Linked DNA regions of Homo sapiens: regions 1 and 2 are each linked to region 3. Evidence: promoter capture Hi-C in human tissues and cell types (Jung and others, 2019). All regions are on one chromosome and are shown on one strand. The core of a region is centred on a gene start or on the middle of the fragment in contact, and the rest is flanking DNA. Distances in the headings are between cores, read along the strand shown. Region 1 overlaps ZFAND6 (zinc finger AN1-type containing 6). Region 2 has its middle 22 kb from the start of ZFAND6. Region 3 holds the start of MTHFS (methenyltetrahydrofolate synthetase).

What was found. Contacts are between HindIII fragments. The study calls those that stand out against the background at their distance.
Region 1: a contact is called between a fragment that was not itself captured here and the fragment with the promoter of MTHFS in region 3, in 1 of the 25 tissues and cell types used here (lymphoblastoid cells).
Region 2: a contact is called between a fragment that was not itself captured here and the fragment with the promoter of MTHFS in region 3, in 3 of the 25 tissues and cell types used here (IMR-90 fibroblasts, lymphoblastoid cells and spleen).

What each region holds. Positions count from the first base shown.
Region 1 is chr15:80,079,163-80,083,853 of GRCh38, reverse strand. The region is part of intron 1 of ZFAND6 (zinc finger AN1-type containing 6); the gene reads right to left. Among named protein-coding and RNA genes, the nearest start is that of ZFAND6, 22 kb to the right of the region's middle. The HindIII fragment of the contact is 4,595 bases long and covers 336-4,691 here.
Region 2 is chr15:80,035,505-80,040,446 of GRCh38, reverse strand. No RefSeq gene overlaps it. Among named protein-coding and RNA genes, the nearest start is that of ZFAND6, 22 kb to the left of the region's middle. RefSeq lists an enhancer at 239-738. The HindIII fragment of the contact is 5,767 bases long and covers 1-4,306 here.
Region 3 is chr15:79,893,895-79,898,631 of GRCh38, reverse strand. MTHFS (methenyltetrahydrofolate synthetase) reads left to right here and starts at 1,618. Exons shown (of 3, transcript NM_006441.4): 1 at 1,618-1,760. The coding sequence starts at 1,644. All of the region lies in intron 2 of ST20-MTHFS (ST20-MTHFS readthrough), which reads left to right. RefSeq lists an enhancer at 1,120-1,169 and a silencer at 1,310-1,609. The HindIII fragment of the contact is 7,261 bases long and covers 1-4,693 here.

The DNA of each region.
Region 1 (4,691 bases), core at 1,384-3,883, 180 kb before region 3:
ATTTCGCTCTGTTGCCCAGGCTGGAGTGCAATGGCATGATCTGAGCTCACCGCAACCTCCTCAGCCTCCTGAGTAGCTGGGATTACAGATGCTCACCACCATGCCCAGCTGATTTTTATATTTTTAGTAGATACACGGTTTCACCACGTTGGCCAGGCTAGTCTCAAACTCCTGACATTGGCTTCCTGAAGTGCTGGGATTACAGGCATGAGCCACTGTGCCCAGCCTAACTTCCATGCTTAATCATCTCCATGAACACGCTTTTCTCTAAAGTTACAAGGCTTACCTAACATCCCTTTCACTCACTCTGGTTAACTTTTATTTATTTTCTAAGTCTTAGCACAGCCACTTTACAGTCTTCTCTGACTCTGCTCCAATGATAATCTGGTCTCTTTTCTCCCTCATTATCATTTAATATAAATTCTCTGCATGTTTCCCCAACATATCATAAGTTCTTAGCATAGCACCCAGTAGTTGCTTAAGAAACCTGTGCAGAATTTATTATTATGGATAATACCACCACCAATTCACAGGGCTGGGAGGTTTAAAATAACGTATGTATAGGCCAGGTGCGGTGGCTCATGCTTGTAATCCCAGCACTTTGGGAGGCCGAAGCGGGCGGATCACGAGGTCAGGAGATTGAGACCATCCCAGCTAACACGGTGAAACCCCGTCTCTACTAAAAAATACAAAAATTAGCCAGGCGTGGTGGCAGGTGCCTGTAGTCCCAGCTACTCGGGAGGCTGAGGCAGGAGAATGGCGTGAACCCAGGAGGCGGAGCTTGCAGTGAGCCAAGATCGCGCCACTGCACTCCAGCCTGGGCGACAGAGTGAGACTCCATTTCAAAATAAATAAATAAATAAAATAACATATGTATATATGTATAGGATACATAGTAGGTGCTCAGTCCACCATCATTTTTTCTATCCCATATCCACCTCAGAGAAAACTTTATAAAAGAAAATTAAGGGAGGTGAGGGCAGTTCAATTGAATAATAAATTTCTAAGATGGAATTCTGATTTTTAGTTCATAGGAAATCAAAGAACCAGAAGATATAAACTCAGCAAAACAAGGAGGGAAGCATGGTCCAATCCTCATAATAAACTCCTTAAATATCTGGAACTCTTACCAGTTTCCATCCTTTGACACTCACTAAAATAAGAATGAATAATCCCTGCTATATCCATCTGTCAATCTTTCCTACCTTTCCCAGAAAGTCACTTGACAGTGATATTGAGATACCAAACCCAAAGGTTTAGGAACATTAGTAAAATTACTCACATTACCACAGAACTTCAAAAACAACAACTGGTAGTCTCCCTGCCTTGAATTCCTCTCCCTAAGTAAACCTTCCCTCTCTAAGTAAACCTGAATAGCAAGATCATGCTCTGGTATCAGCCTTCCCAATTTCAATCTAGGCTCTGCCACATAACCTTTGTCAATTTGTCCTATCTGTCTATAAACCTGTTTAACCTTTGTCAATTTTTCCTATCTCTCTATAAACTTAGCATTATCATCTGCGAAATAGGCACAACAATAATACCCATCTCATGATATTGTGAGAACTTAAAGTTAATGTGTCTGATAGTGTCCAATATGAGTTGCAATTAAATTAATATTCCAAACCCTGTTTTTACCACTTATTTGCATAGAAGCCTTCATAATTCACCACTGCTCACAGTCACACCATTCCCATATCCTATGTATACTCCATACCTCTTCCCCACCTGGGCTTACTGGAAAAATGAGAAATTAAATGGCACCTGCTAAACCAGCAAAATTTTGGTTGGCATATCCAGAATCTATTACTCCCTCCATTTTGCCATTCCAGGATTGCCTCTTTCCGGGTAAATAAAGCTTTTAGTGTACATCCAGTCTCAAACCTATCTAACAAATCTTCAAGGAATGTCTCAGATTTTACTTTTTCTAATTTTCTTATTATCTTGGCTTATCTTTCTTCCCACTTGAACTTCTACAGCAATCATCTATAACAAACACAAGTTTGCACTCAGTAATATATGATCCTGACATTAAACTAAATTAAGTCTGGCCCGAGGCTGCCTCCATCCATATTTTAGGTTTGGCCCAAAGTTTCTCTCTACATAGTGCACTATAAAGTTAACTTGATATGTAAGCAGACTGTAACCTACTCTTGTAATAAGTAGCCAAGTCTCAGCCAATCACAGTAGCTGAGTTTCAGCCAATCATAGGTGGCCAACTGTTCAAATTGTGTTCAGATGAGGCAAAGGCTGAGCTGTAACTAATCTAGCTGTTACTGTACCTCACTTCCCTTTGCTGTATGCATGTCACTTCCCTTTTCTTGACCATAAATGTTATCTGACAATATGTTATTTGACAATACGGTACTCTGCAGTCCTCCTGAACTGTTCTGGTTCTGGGAGCTGCTTGGTTCTTGAATCGCTTTTTGCTCAATTAAATTCCATTAAATTTGTCTAAAGTCTTTAACACTGACTTATCAGATAGGAAATACTCATATCCCCTACTTTTATCAAACAGTATGTGAGTTTCCTCCAGAAAAGGACCATTTTACAGTACTTTACAAGCTCATCTGACTGTGTAACTAGTCTGACTATCTGACTAGGCTGTATGCACACAACTCAATAAAAATTTGTTACTGAAACAATTATTTTAGGCAATCAATGTCACCTTTTCAGTGTAGGTTTTCATTTGAAAGTCTGCAAAGAATAAATTTTTTCTACAAAAAGTAAATGTATTTTTTAAATTCCTACAGCTACTGAGACTTAGTATTCATTCAGAGAAAAGATAACCTTACAGTAGTCCACCCTTATCAACTGATAAAGTTTGTGTATTTGTCCCCACTCAAATCTCATGGTGAACTGTAATCCCCAGTATCGGAGGTGGGGCCTGATGGGAGGTGACTGGATGATGGGGATGGAGGAGTTCTCATGAATAGCTTAACACCATCCCCTTGGTGCTGTCCTTGAGATAGTTTTCACAAGATCTGGCTGCTTAAAAGTGTGTGGTACCTCTCCGCACCCCACTCTCTTTAGCTCCTGGCTTTTGTCATGTGATGCACCAGCTCCCTCTTTGCTTCCGCAGTGATTGTAAGCTTCCTGAGGCATGATCACAAGCTGAGCAGATCTCTGGTGCCATGTCTCCTGCACAGCCTGAAGAACCATGAGCCAATTAAACCTCTTTTTATACTCAGTCTCACGTATTTCTGTATAGTAATGCAAGAATGACCTAACACATCCAAGATTTCATTGTCGGCTGTTTCAGTTACCTGAGATCAACCACAGCCTGAAGATACTAAGATATTTTGAGAGAAAGAGGGAGGGAGATGATATCACATAACTTTTATTACAGTATAATTATTCTATTATTGTTAATGTCTTACTATGTCTAATTTATAAAACTATGTCATAGGTATTTATGTATAGGACAAAACACAGCAAATATAGGTTTGGTACTATCCACAGTGGGTCTTCAAACATATCTCCCATGAATAAGGGGCAACTACTGTATATATAATTTTAAACAATTATCTACAAAATTTAAGAAAACTGGTTGTGTAGGCCGGGTGCAGTGGCTCATGCCTGTAACCCTAGCCCTTTGGGAGGCCGAAGTGGGTGGATCACCCGAGGTCAGGAATTCAAGACCAGCCTGGCCAACATGGTGAAACCCCGTAGCTACTAAAATACAAAAATTAGCTGGTCATGATGGTGGGTGCCTGTAATCCCAGCTACTCGGAGGCTGAGACGGGAGAACTGCTTGAACCCTGGAGATGGTGGTTGCAGTGACTGGAGATTGCACCACTGCACTCCAGCCTGGGTGGGTGAGCAAGACTCTATCTCAAAGAAAAAAAAAAGAAAGGGAAAAAAAACAGAAAAACGGTTGTGTATTCTGTTTCTCAAAGCTAAGGGCCAGGCGTGGTGGCTCATGCCTGTAATCCAGCATTTTGGGAGGCCGAGGCAGGTGGATCACAAGGTCAGGAGATCGAGACCATCCTGGCTACGGTGAAACCCCGACTCTACTAAAAATACAAAAAATTAGCTAGCTGGGCGTGGTGGCGGGCGCCTGTAGTCCCAGCTACTCGGGGAGGCTAAGGCAGGAGGATGGCATGAACCTGGGAGGCAGAGCTTGCAGTGAGCCAAGTTTGCGCCACTGCACTCCAGCCTGGGCGACACAGCGAGACTCCATTTCAAAAAAAAAAAAAAAAAAGCTAAGGAAAACATTCTTTTCAAATTATATATCACATAAATCTATTATAACATTCAAAATCTATTGTCATTATTTTACATTTTTATTATTTAATGTATACCAAAAGAACAGCAAAAGAAAGAACAGAGTAGGCCGGGTGCGGTGGCTCACGCCTGTAATCCCAGCACTTTGGGAGGCCGAGGTGGGCGGATCATGAGGTCAGGAGATCGAGACCATCCTGGCTAACACGGTGAAACCCCGTCTCTACTAAAAATCCAAAAAATTAGCCAAGCGTGGTGGCGGGTGCCTGTGGTCCCAGCTACTTGGGAGGCTGAGGCAGGAGAATGGCGTGAACCCAGGAGGCGGAGCTTGCAGTGAGCCGAGATCGCGCCACTGCACTCCAGCCTGGGCGACAGAGCGAGACTCCGTCTCCAAAAAAAAAGGAAAGAAAGAACAGAGTAAACAGATAATCTACAGAATAGGAGAAAATACTCACAAACTGCACCTC
Region 2 (4,942 bases), core at 174-2,673, 140 kb before region 3:
AAACACATATATGCCTAGGAAAATAGATGTTTATATTTATATATACACGTGTATATATTTATATATGTATATATATATTTACATATGTGGCATTATAGGTGATGATTACTATTGGCTTTTTTATTCATGTGTTTTTCATATTTTCACCAATTTTATAATCTAGTAAGAATTTTTTTAAAAACGAAAAGGTTATAAAAAAAGGAAAAACCTAATAAAATTGTATAGTATAATCACTAGTGAGTGAAAGTAAGCATAAATTTTGTACATGGAAAAAAAATCTAGGAAAAACTAGAATTAGTGGAAATTTAGATGTTAAAACTTTTTTTTTTCCTCTTTTTATTCCCCCCAAGTCTATGATAATGAATGAATATTAGTTCCGGTGCTAGAAGAAAGTATAATGTAAAAATGTAAATATTTATTAGGTGCACCCAAAGATCATCATTTTAGAGATGGAGAAACTTAGGGGCAAGCAGGGGCATTGGCTGCTAAAGGGGGTGCAGGCTGAGGCAGGTCTCACCTCTGGGTTCTAGAGCTCCTTCCAGCCCCCTTCAAGCTGCCATCACATTTCTGTTCTCGAGTTTGGAGAAAAGGGACACACACCGGTTGGTGCCCGTGCTGGCAGTCTGCTCACATCACACCTAACTGAGGGGTCTCCCCAGGGCCTTGAGCTCCTGGCTGGCTAATTCTACTTAGTGCTAGGGTAACTGAGGTCAGACATCCATGAGGTGGCAAAGTGGGGTGATCAGTTTGTCCCAGTTTGCCTCAGATTTCCCCAGTTTTAGCACCTAAAATCCTGCATTCCAGGAAATCTCTTGGGCCTATAAAAACCAGAACAGGACCAGGCACGGTGGCTCACCCCTGCAATCCCAGTACTTTGGGAGGTCAAGGTGGGTGGATCACCTGAGGTCGGGAGGTGGGGAGTTCGAGACTGGCCTGGCCAACATGGTGAAACCCCGTCTCTATTAAAAATACAAAAATTAGCCGGGCGTGGTAGTAAATGCCTGTCGTCCCAGCTACTCGGGAAGCTGAGGCAGGAGAATCTCTTGAACCCAGGAGGCGGAGGTTTCAGTGAGCCAAGATCGTGCCACTGCACTACAGCCTGGGTGACAAAGCAAGACTCCATCTCAAACAACAACAACAACAACAACAGCAACACAGAACAGTTGGTCACCCTAGAGTGAATTGTGATTCCCAAGAACACCAAACTGGGAACCAGGAGATCACCATTCTCACCCGAACTCCCTGTGTGGTATTACCTCACCTCTCTGGGCCTCAGTTTGCTTATCAGTGAAACAGTATCATCTCCCCGGACTCTACCTTAAAGGGTCGTTTCAAATAAAAAAAAAATGTGAAATTACATTGTAAACTAAGGACTGTGTCCATAGGGGAGGGTCAGGGTGGACTTTGCCCTTGGGGGAGTCAGCTAGAGCCATGGAGGCATGACCACAGCGTTCTGATCACAGCTTACTCTCCATTCTCCTTGACATCCAAAGTCACGCCCACCTAAAATCCTCTCATGAGGTTAATCCAACAAGTCTTCAGCTCTGGTGAGGTGGGACTCCGAGGGTTCTACAAACTTTTTCTGTAAAAGCCTTTGATGGTTAATTTTTTTTTTTTTTTTTTTTGAGACAGAGTCTTGCTCTGTCGCGGCTGGAGTGCAGTGATGCAATCTCAGCTCACCGCAACCTCCACCTTCTGGATTCAAGTGATTCTTCTGCCTCAGCCTCCCAAGTAGCTGGGATTACAGGCGCGCACCATCACGCCCAGCTAATTTTTGTATTTTTAGTAGAGACAGGGTTTCACCATATTGGCCAGGCTGGTCTTGAACTCCTGACCTCGCAGTCCATCCACCTTGGCCTCCCAAAGTGCTGGGATTACAGGTGTGAGCCACGGCGCCTGGCTTTGATGGTTAATTTTATGTGTCAATTTGGCTGGACCACAGTACCCAGATATTTGGTCAGACATTATTCTGGATGTTTCTGTGAGAGTACATTTGGATGAGATTAACATTGAAATCAGTGGATTTTGAGTAAAGTTGGTTGCCCTCCACAATGTTGGTAGGCCTCATCCAATCAGTCAAAGGACTGAATGGTACAAAGACTGACCTCCCCTGAGGAAGAAGGCATCCTGCAGCAGACAGCCTTCAGACTCAAACTGCAACCTTGGCTCTTCCCAGGTCTTCAGCCTGCCAGTCCACCCTGCAGACTTTGGACTTGCCAGCCTCCATAATCACATGAGCCAGTTCCTTAAATCTCTCTCTCTTTTTTTCTTCCTTTCTCTCTATCCTATTGGTTCTGTTTCTATGGAAAACCCTGACTAGTACAAAATCCAAATAGAACATGTTTTAGGCTCTGCAGGTCATGTGATCTCTGTCACATCTACTCGACTCTCCCATTTTAGCTCAGAAGCAGCCATAAACAATACACAAGGTATTGTCCACCTTGGCCTGCTGACATTTGAGGCTGGATCATTGTTTGTTATGAAGGCTGTCCTGTGAACTGTAGGATATTTAGCAGCATCCTAGTCTCTACCCAGTTGATACCAGTAGCACTCCTCAGTTGTCACAACCCAAAATGTAACTGGGGGGAGGGAGGTCTGATATAAATAAATGAGCATGACTGTATTCTATTGAAACGTGATTTACAAAATAGGTGCTATTTTGTAGATACATTATTGTAAAACATTATTTACAAAATGGTTGGTTTGGCCCATGGGCCATAGTTTGCTCTAGGCAGCAGGGTCAACCAATGTCAGCAATGACCTGGAGCTTTGAGGAAGGAGACCCATCATCGGAGAGTGATGAGGGAGCCTGCAGGAGACCTGTAATGTCAAGCCAGATTCCCCTTCCAAAGCATTGGATGGAGCCAAGTCCCAGGCTGAGGATCCTTGCTATATCTTACCTGGAGGTTGTTGGGTCAGATGATGATGCTGTACCTTTGACAGTGCAGTTGCTGCAATGACGGGAGGCCTAAAAGAAGCTTTAATTTTCTTTTTTTTTTTTTTGGAGACAGAGTCTCGCTCTGTTGCCCAGGCTGGAGTGCAGTGGCGCGATCTCGGCTCACTGCAACCTCTGCCTCCTGGGTTCAAGCAGTTCTACTGCCTCAGCCACCCGAGTAGCTGGGACTACAGGTGCACGCTGCCACATCCAGCTAATTTTTTTTTTTGTATTTTAGTAGAGACGGGTTTTCACCGTGTTGCCCAGGCTGGTCTCAAACTCCTGAGCTCAGGTACTCCGCCTGCCTCAGCCTCCCAAAGTGTTCGGATTACAGGCGTGAGCCACCGTGCCGGGCCAAGAAGCTTGAATTTTCTTACTGTGCATCCCAGCTGGGGTTGAAGGTTTGTAGAAGAGGGGGATGTTAGGTGCCTCACCACATCTCCTCTGGGCTTCCCTAGTGGCCGCCTCATTTCCTTCTCACCGTTTCCACAATCTTCAATCCATCAAGAAACTGTATTTTTGAACCTTTTCGCATTTTCATTTGGCAGCCAAAGTAGGGTAGCCTGTTTCACATGGAAAGTAATTTTGTTTCACGCTTGTCTATCACCCTCTTAGCCCTGGCATGTAAATAGGGGAGAAGGAGGCAGGGGAAGTATCCACAGACCCCCAGGGAGGAGGGTCATTGCAGGGGTTGCTGGGGAAGAGTTCATTATCTGTGGCCTAGCCTTGTGTCCTCAACACTGGGCACATGCCATGCTCTCAAAGCTCTGGTTAATAGGAGCTTCATAGGAAGTTATATTTCAAAGGGAGACAATTTTCCTGATCATGCTATTTGCAAAGGGGATGGGAGCATTTTTGTATTTGTATTTATGAGCATGACTGTTCTAATGAAACATTATTTACAAAACAGGTGGCCAGCTGGTTTGGCCTGTGGGCCATAGTTTGCTAACACTGCTATAGGCAATGGGGACATCCAGTGTCAGCACTGACCTGGAGCTTTAAGGAAAGGGACCTATTGTTGGAGAGTGATGAGGGGGACTACAGGAGACCCATAATGTCAAGGAATGACAACATAAAGCCACCCTTAGGGAAAGAGCCTTCCAGGAAGTCTTGGCAGGGAGTTGTGCCAGGGCCTTAAATGCAGTTGGCAACCAATGCTACCCAATCAGGCCAGCCACCTGCAACACACTAGAGGCCCAGCAATGGTTCTGAAACCCTAATGTATATGAGAATCACCTTGAGAGCTAATGCAGCTGGCTGAGGTCCAGGCTCATTGGAGTACACAAGGGCCTGGGCCTTTGTGTTTTCACCATGTGCTCCAGATGAGCTCAAGCTCATTCCAGCCAAGAATTGAGAACCACTGGGTTCAAGGCTTGCTACTCAAAGTGTGGTGTGTGGACGGGCAGCATCAGTATTATCTGAGTGCTTGCTACAAATGTAGCATCTCTGAGCCCACCAGGACCTACTAAATCAGTGTTGTCATTTTGACAAGGTCCTTAAGGATTTTTATTCACCTTATAATTTGGGAAGCATTAGAGCTGGATCATAGAGGAACTGGGCAGCAGGTGGGCCCCAAGAAAAGTTGGCCCCAGGCCCAAAGAAAAGACTTCAGCTGAACAAGGTCACTCATCTGAACTGACAAAAACAAGGAAGAGTCCAGTCAGACAAAAGAACTCTCAAGTGAGGAGAACAGGAGCCGTCTGTTACTCAAGGAAATGGATCCCGAGTCTGGGGTGGCAAAGAAATCTTGGGGAGCAACACAGGCCCTGGCCAGGCCAGAGGTCAACTGCAACAATAGGCCCCAGGTGCTCATCTCATTTGCAGGGCCTCTCACAGGCCACATTTGTGCTTTGCCCAGGCTCCCTGCCCCAGGCCAGTGCCTGCCTGAGTCCTAACCCCTCCAACTTTGCTCTTTCTTAGCCCCAAACTCAGCCTTCACATCTGGTGATGAAATGCAGCTTCTTTGCTTCACAGGCCCTGATAACCAGCCTGCATTCCCTGTTGCTC
Region 3 (4,737 bases), core at 369-2,868:
TCAGGCTAGAAGCAGACTCAGGTCGGCTTCCCTCTTCCCTCCTTCCTTCCCATGCTTTCTGCAGTTTCCAGTGCCCCTGGCTGCTTAAGAGTTTCCATTGATGCCTCCTCCCCAGCCTTCTCTCTCTGGCTTGCCATTTGGGGTTGATGGATATGGCAACCTGATATGCAGGATACTCTGGGATATTCTGAACAAAGAAAATTGGTAAATGATTCAACGTGGAGCTAGTGTTAATTTTAATTTTTATTTTTTGGTAAAAATGAACAGATTAGAAAAGTACGTAGTTTGTTAGACCTCGTGTTCTAACTTTTAGGTCAGCAAATCTAATTGCACTATGTATACGCTGTACCTGCCTGGCCTTCCCTTTTTCTTACAACACAGTCCCCCTGGGACTTGCATTAGCTTTCCCTGGAAGCTGTTGATAGATTCCATAAAGAAGCCAGAACTCCCCTCTCAAGCCATGTGCATTCTCACCGGGCACTTAATTAATGCTTTACCTAGGAGGTGTGATTCTTAACGGTGGGGATTAAGACACTGGGGCGGTCAGTAGGGACGTATTTTTGGCAGAGACAGCTCTGGTTTTCTTAGGAAGTCACATCTGAGAGGCAACCGTCTATGCCATCTGAGGCGCCTGTCTACTGGGAGCAGTTTAAGACTTAACAGTTTCTTTTACCTCTTCCTGCAAGTGCCTCACCCACCCCCCAACTGCTTTTAGTTTTAATTCATTTTTGTGTTTTAATCAGAGCTGAGTGGTGGGAATGAACAGTCACTGATGGTTATAACAGGAAGTACCTATGTGGGCACTATTACCTGGAATACATTCACACTAGAAACCCGCAAAATTTGGCTTTTACACTACAGTTATTGCTTTAGCAGTGTTCCCGATTATGTATCATCTATACATTCATCACATAAGGACATTTCCATCAACCACTGTGGTCCCTTAAGATTATAATGGAGCTGAAAAATTCCTAATACCTACTGATGTGGTAGCCAACCAACACATTACCTTTTCTGTGTTTAGATACACAAGTATCACGGTGCTTACAATTGCCTACAGTATTCGGTACAAAATACGCTGTACAGGTGTGTAGCATAGGTGTGTAGTAACTTTGTGTAACTACACTCTGATGTTTGCACAAGAAGGAAATCGGGGCATCTGTCAGACCTATCCCTGTAGTTAAGCGACTCGTGACGATTTCGCTACATGTCCTGCCTTGCCCTTCTTTTCTGGCCCCTGAAGTCCCACTACTGAACAGTACAAGAGATGCCAGGCACCGTGGGTACTGCCGGCCATCTTTACCATCCCCGCCAGTGGCGCTGCCGCCTCCGCGGTCCCGGTGAGGGCCCAGGCTCAGGGAGGTCAGGCGGCAGGGCAGCGACGGCGCCTCGCCACCGCTCCCCTAACCGGGGAGGGCGAGCCGGACCACGGGGACCGCACGAGGGCTGGGTCCCAAGGGCCAGAGGCGAGGTAAGCGCGCGGCGCGCCGCGGGCCCGCGTCCCGGAAGCGGGGTGGGGGCGCTTCCCCGAGCCCCGACCCGCCCCTAGGCCGCGGATCCACCTGGGAGCGGCCAGGGGCGGAGACCGAACCCGAGGGCGCCCAGGGCGCCGAGGGCGGGACTGGACTCGGCTTGGGCGTGAGATGGCGGCGGCAGCGGTGAGCAGCGCCAAGCGGAGCCTGCGGGGAGAGCTGAAGCAGCGTCTGCGGGCGATGAGTGCCGAGGAGCGGCTACGCCAGTCCCGCGTACTGAGCCAGAAGGTGCGAGGCCGCCCGTAGCGGAAGCCGCGGCGGACAGACCCTCCGAAGGCCTGGCGGCCAGCGATTGCTGATCTGTGCATGGTCCGTGCTGGCGCTGGGCTAGGCGCCCCCCCACCCCCCGGCGCGCGCACGTTTCCCCTCCCGGCGCGCGCACGCCCCCTAGTCGTGGTCTGGACGCTCTTGGCACTATGGCGGGGAGAGGGCCCGGTAGTGAAAGTTGTGGGGCTAAAGAGCGAGAGGACGGCAGGGGTTGACAGATTTATCTCTGGGAGGGGAGTTTGTTTGCATGGGTGGCTCTTTTGGTGCTCGAAAACCCTCCGTGGGGATGACGGTGCTGTGGTGAGAGCACGGTGAGAACAGAAAGTTGTGGTAGAGGAGATGGGTGAACACCTGAGTGCCCAGGTTCCCTCAGTGAGGCCTAAAGTTAATGAGCTACGAGTAAGACTCCGGTTATATTAGTAAAATGGCCAGAGAAAGATGCAGGTGCTTTAGACGAGGGAACACCAAAAAAGGTGTGGAGATGCCAAAGGGCAGAACTCAGAGGTTGACTGGACTTCACTAAGCATATGGAGGGCTAAGGCTGTGTCTCAGTAGCTCCAGGGCCTAGGCTTTTCCTGTCTCAGAGTTGGTCAACATTAAATGCTTTTTCTTGAGTGAACGAAAGGAAGACTTGGCTATCATATCCAGGCTTCCCAAGAACGTAGGAAACAGAAGAGAGAAATGAGAGGAATAAGTGAGGGTCCGTGTTTGTTGGTTAGCAGACCTCTGTTTCATTACTTTCACCAACTGCACTGCTATGTATTTTTAGTCTATGTAATGTCAGTTTTCTTATCAATAAAATGGCAGTCATATCCTGTTGTGAAGGCATGTTCTAAAGAGTTTTTGGGGACTCATTTTTGTTAGACACCAGAGGAAGAAAAATTTAATGTCCCCTGAATAAGTACGTATTTGTAATTCTGTTGTAAGTCAAACTGATGATCTGTCTTCCCAGCATCATGCTTCAGAGACACCAGATATTTGGAAACTTGATGTTCCTTGGAATTAGTTATACCATCAGGCTTTCTTAATTACCCTTCACTATTCTATTATCCGTTATTTACTCAAATTCAAGGTGCCTATGGGTTAAAGCAGTAAAGCATATATGCTCATTTCACCCCTCTCTTCATCTATGTAGGTGTGTATGAGGGAATCTATACAGATGTTAATTCGTTCGTTCAAACAGAATTATTTTAGCTATTATGAGGAAGCATTGCTGGGTGTTTTAGTAGATGTAAAGGATATAGACTCTTGTCCTTACTATCTAGTTGTTTAAAATTTAGCTAATTCATTCACATATGTTGAACACCTATGTAGTGCACACTTGGCTATATACTGGGTTGTGGAGATGAAAAAGATATGATTGTTGCTCTAAAGGAGCAGAGAGCCTAGAAGAGGAAACAGACATGAATAAAGAATTGCATTGAAGCCAGATATATGATAAAGGTAAACACCAATGTTGTGGAAACATAGCCTTGGGGAGGGGAAATTGGAAAGCTTTCTATTGGAAAATGTTTGAGATGAATTTCGGAGAACAAGATGAATTCTTTCAGGTGAAGGGAAAGATGGGATAGGGGAGTGTGAGTAGGGATATTTAGGCAAGAGATGACAGGATACAGTTTAGCATGGGCTTTGGAACTGCACAGATCTGGGCTGAATCTGGCGCCATTGTTTTTTAACTGTATATCCTTGGACAGGTCTCATAATCTCTCAGAACCTTTGGTTCCTTGTCTATAAAATGGATAATATCACTCTTGTAGGTCGATTGTGAGAGTTAAAGAAGTGTGTAAAGGGATGTATTCAGAGCTTTACCTATTGTTTGTTATGTCCTTTAGGAAGAGTATAATGGCAGCATTTGGATAATGGGTTGAGGAAGGAAGAAAGAAAAAAAATATGGAGACCAGTAAGGGGCTGTTGTGCCAATTCAAGTGAAAGATGAAAAATATGCAAACCAGAGCATGGGCAGTGAAGATGAGGGGAAAGGAGGCAAATGGGAGACTGTTAAGTGAGAAACAGCAGGACTTGGCAACTGATTGGAAGAGGTTAGAGAATACTGGAAGGGGAGGAGAGTCACCAGTGATTCCAAAATTTAGAGCTTGGTATAATGGTGTTTAGCCTTAGGCATAAAGAAGGTAGGAATTGGAACAAATTTTGGAGGGGCATGGGGAAAATAAAGATGAATTCAGTTTCTAATCTTCTACGTTGTCTTTCTCCGTAGAAGATTAGAATTCATAAACTATAGATGGAAATAGTTTACATAGATACAGAGTCACTGACAGCAATAGAATGACGACTGAGAGCTGGCATTAAAGGAGGAGAGAGAAAAATTAAAAAGCAGACCCATGACCCTCAGTAATAAATACATTTTACTCTGTACAAACAAATATACACATACAAGGAACATTTTACAGCTCTTAAGCACATACAATGAAATTTAATATTTTCTTTTTTTTTCAAGACAGAGTCTTGCTCTGTCGCCCAGGCTGGAGTGCGGTGGCATGATCTCGGCTCACTGCAACCTCTGCCTCCCACGTTCAAGCGATTCTCCTGCCTCAGCCTCCCAAGTAGCTGGGATTACAGGCACGTGCCGCCATGCTCAGCTAATTTTTCTATTTTTAGTAGAGACGGGGTTTCACCATGTTGGCCAGGGTGGTCTCGAACTCGACCTCGTGATCTTCCCGCCTCTGCCTCCCAAAGTGCTGGGATTACAGGCGTGAGCCACTGTGCCTGGCTCGAACTTTAATATTTTCTATTCTATTTCATTTAAAAATTGTAGCCCACTATTGATTTCATGACTAACCAATGGATCATCACTGGAAACATCAGTGTACTGTGTAGTGTTTTGCCATAGTGAATGCTCAATAAAGGTGTTAAATGATGTCTTTCATTTAGAAAAGCGTATTTATTCTTATTGGCACTGTACCTTTTTATAACTTAGAAA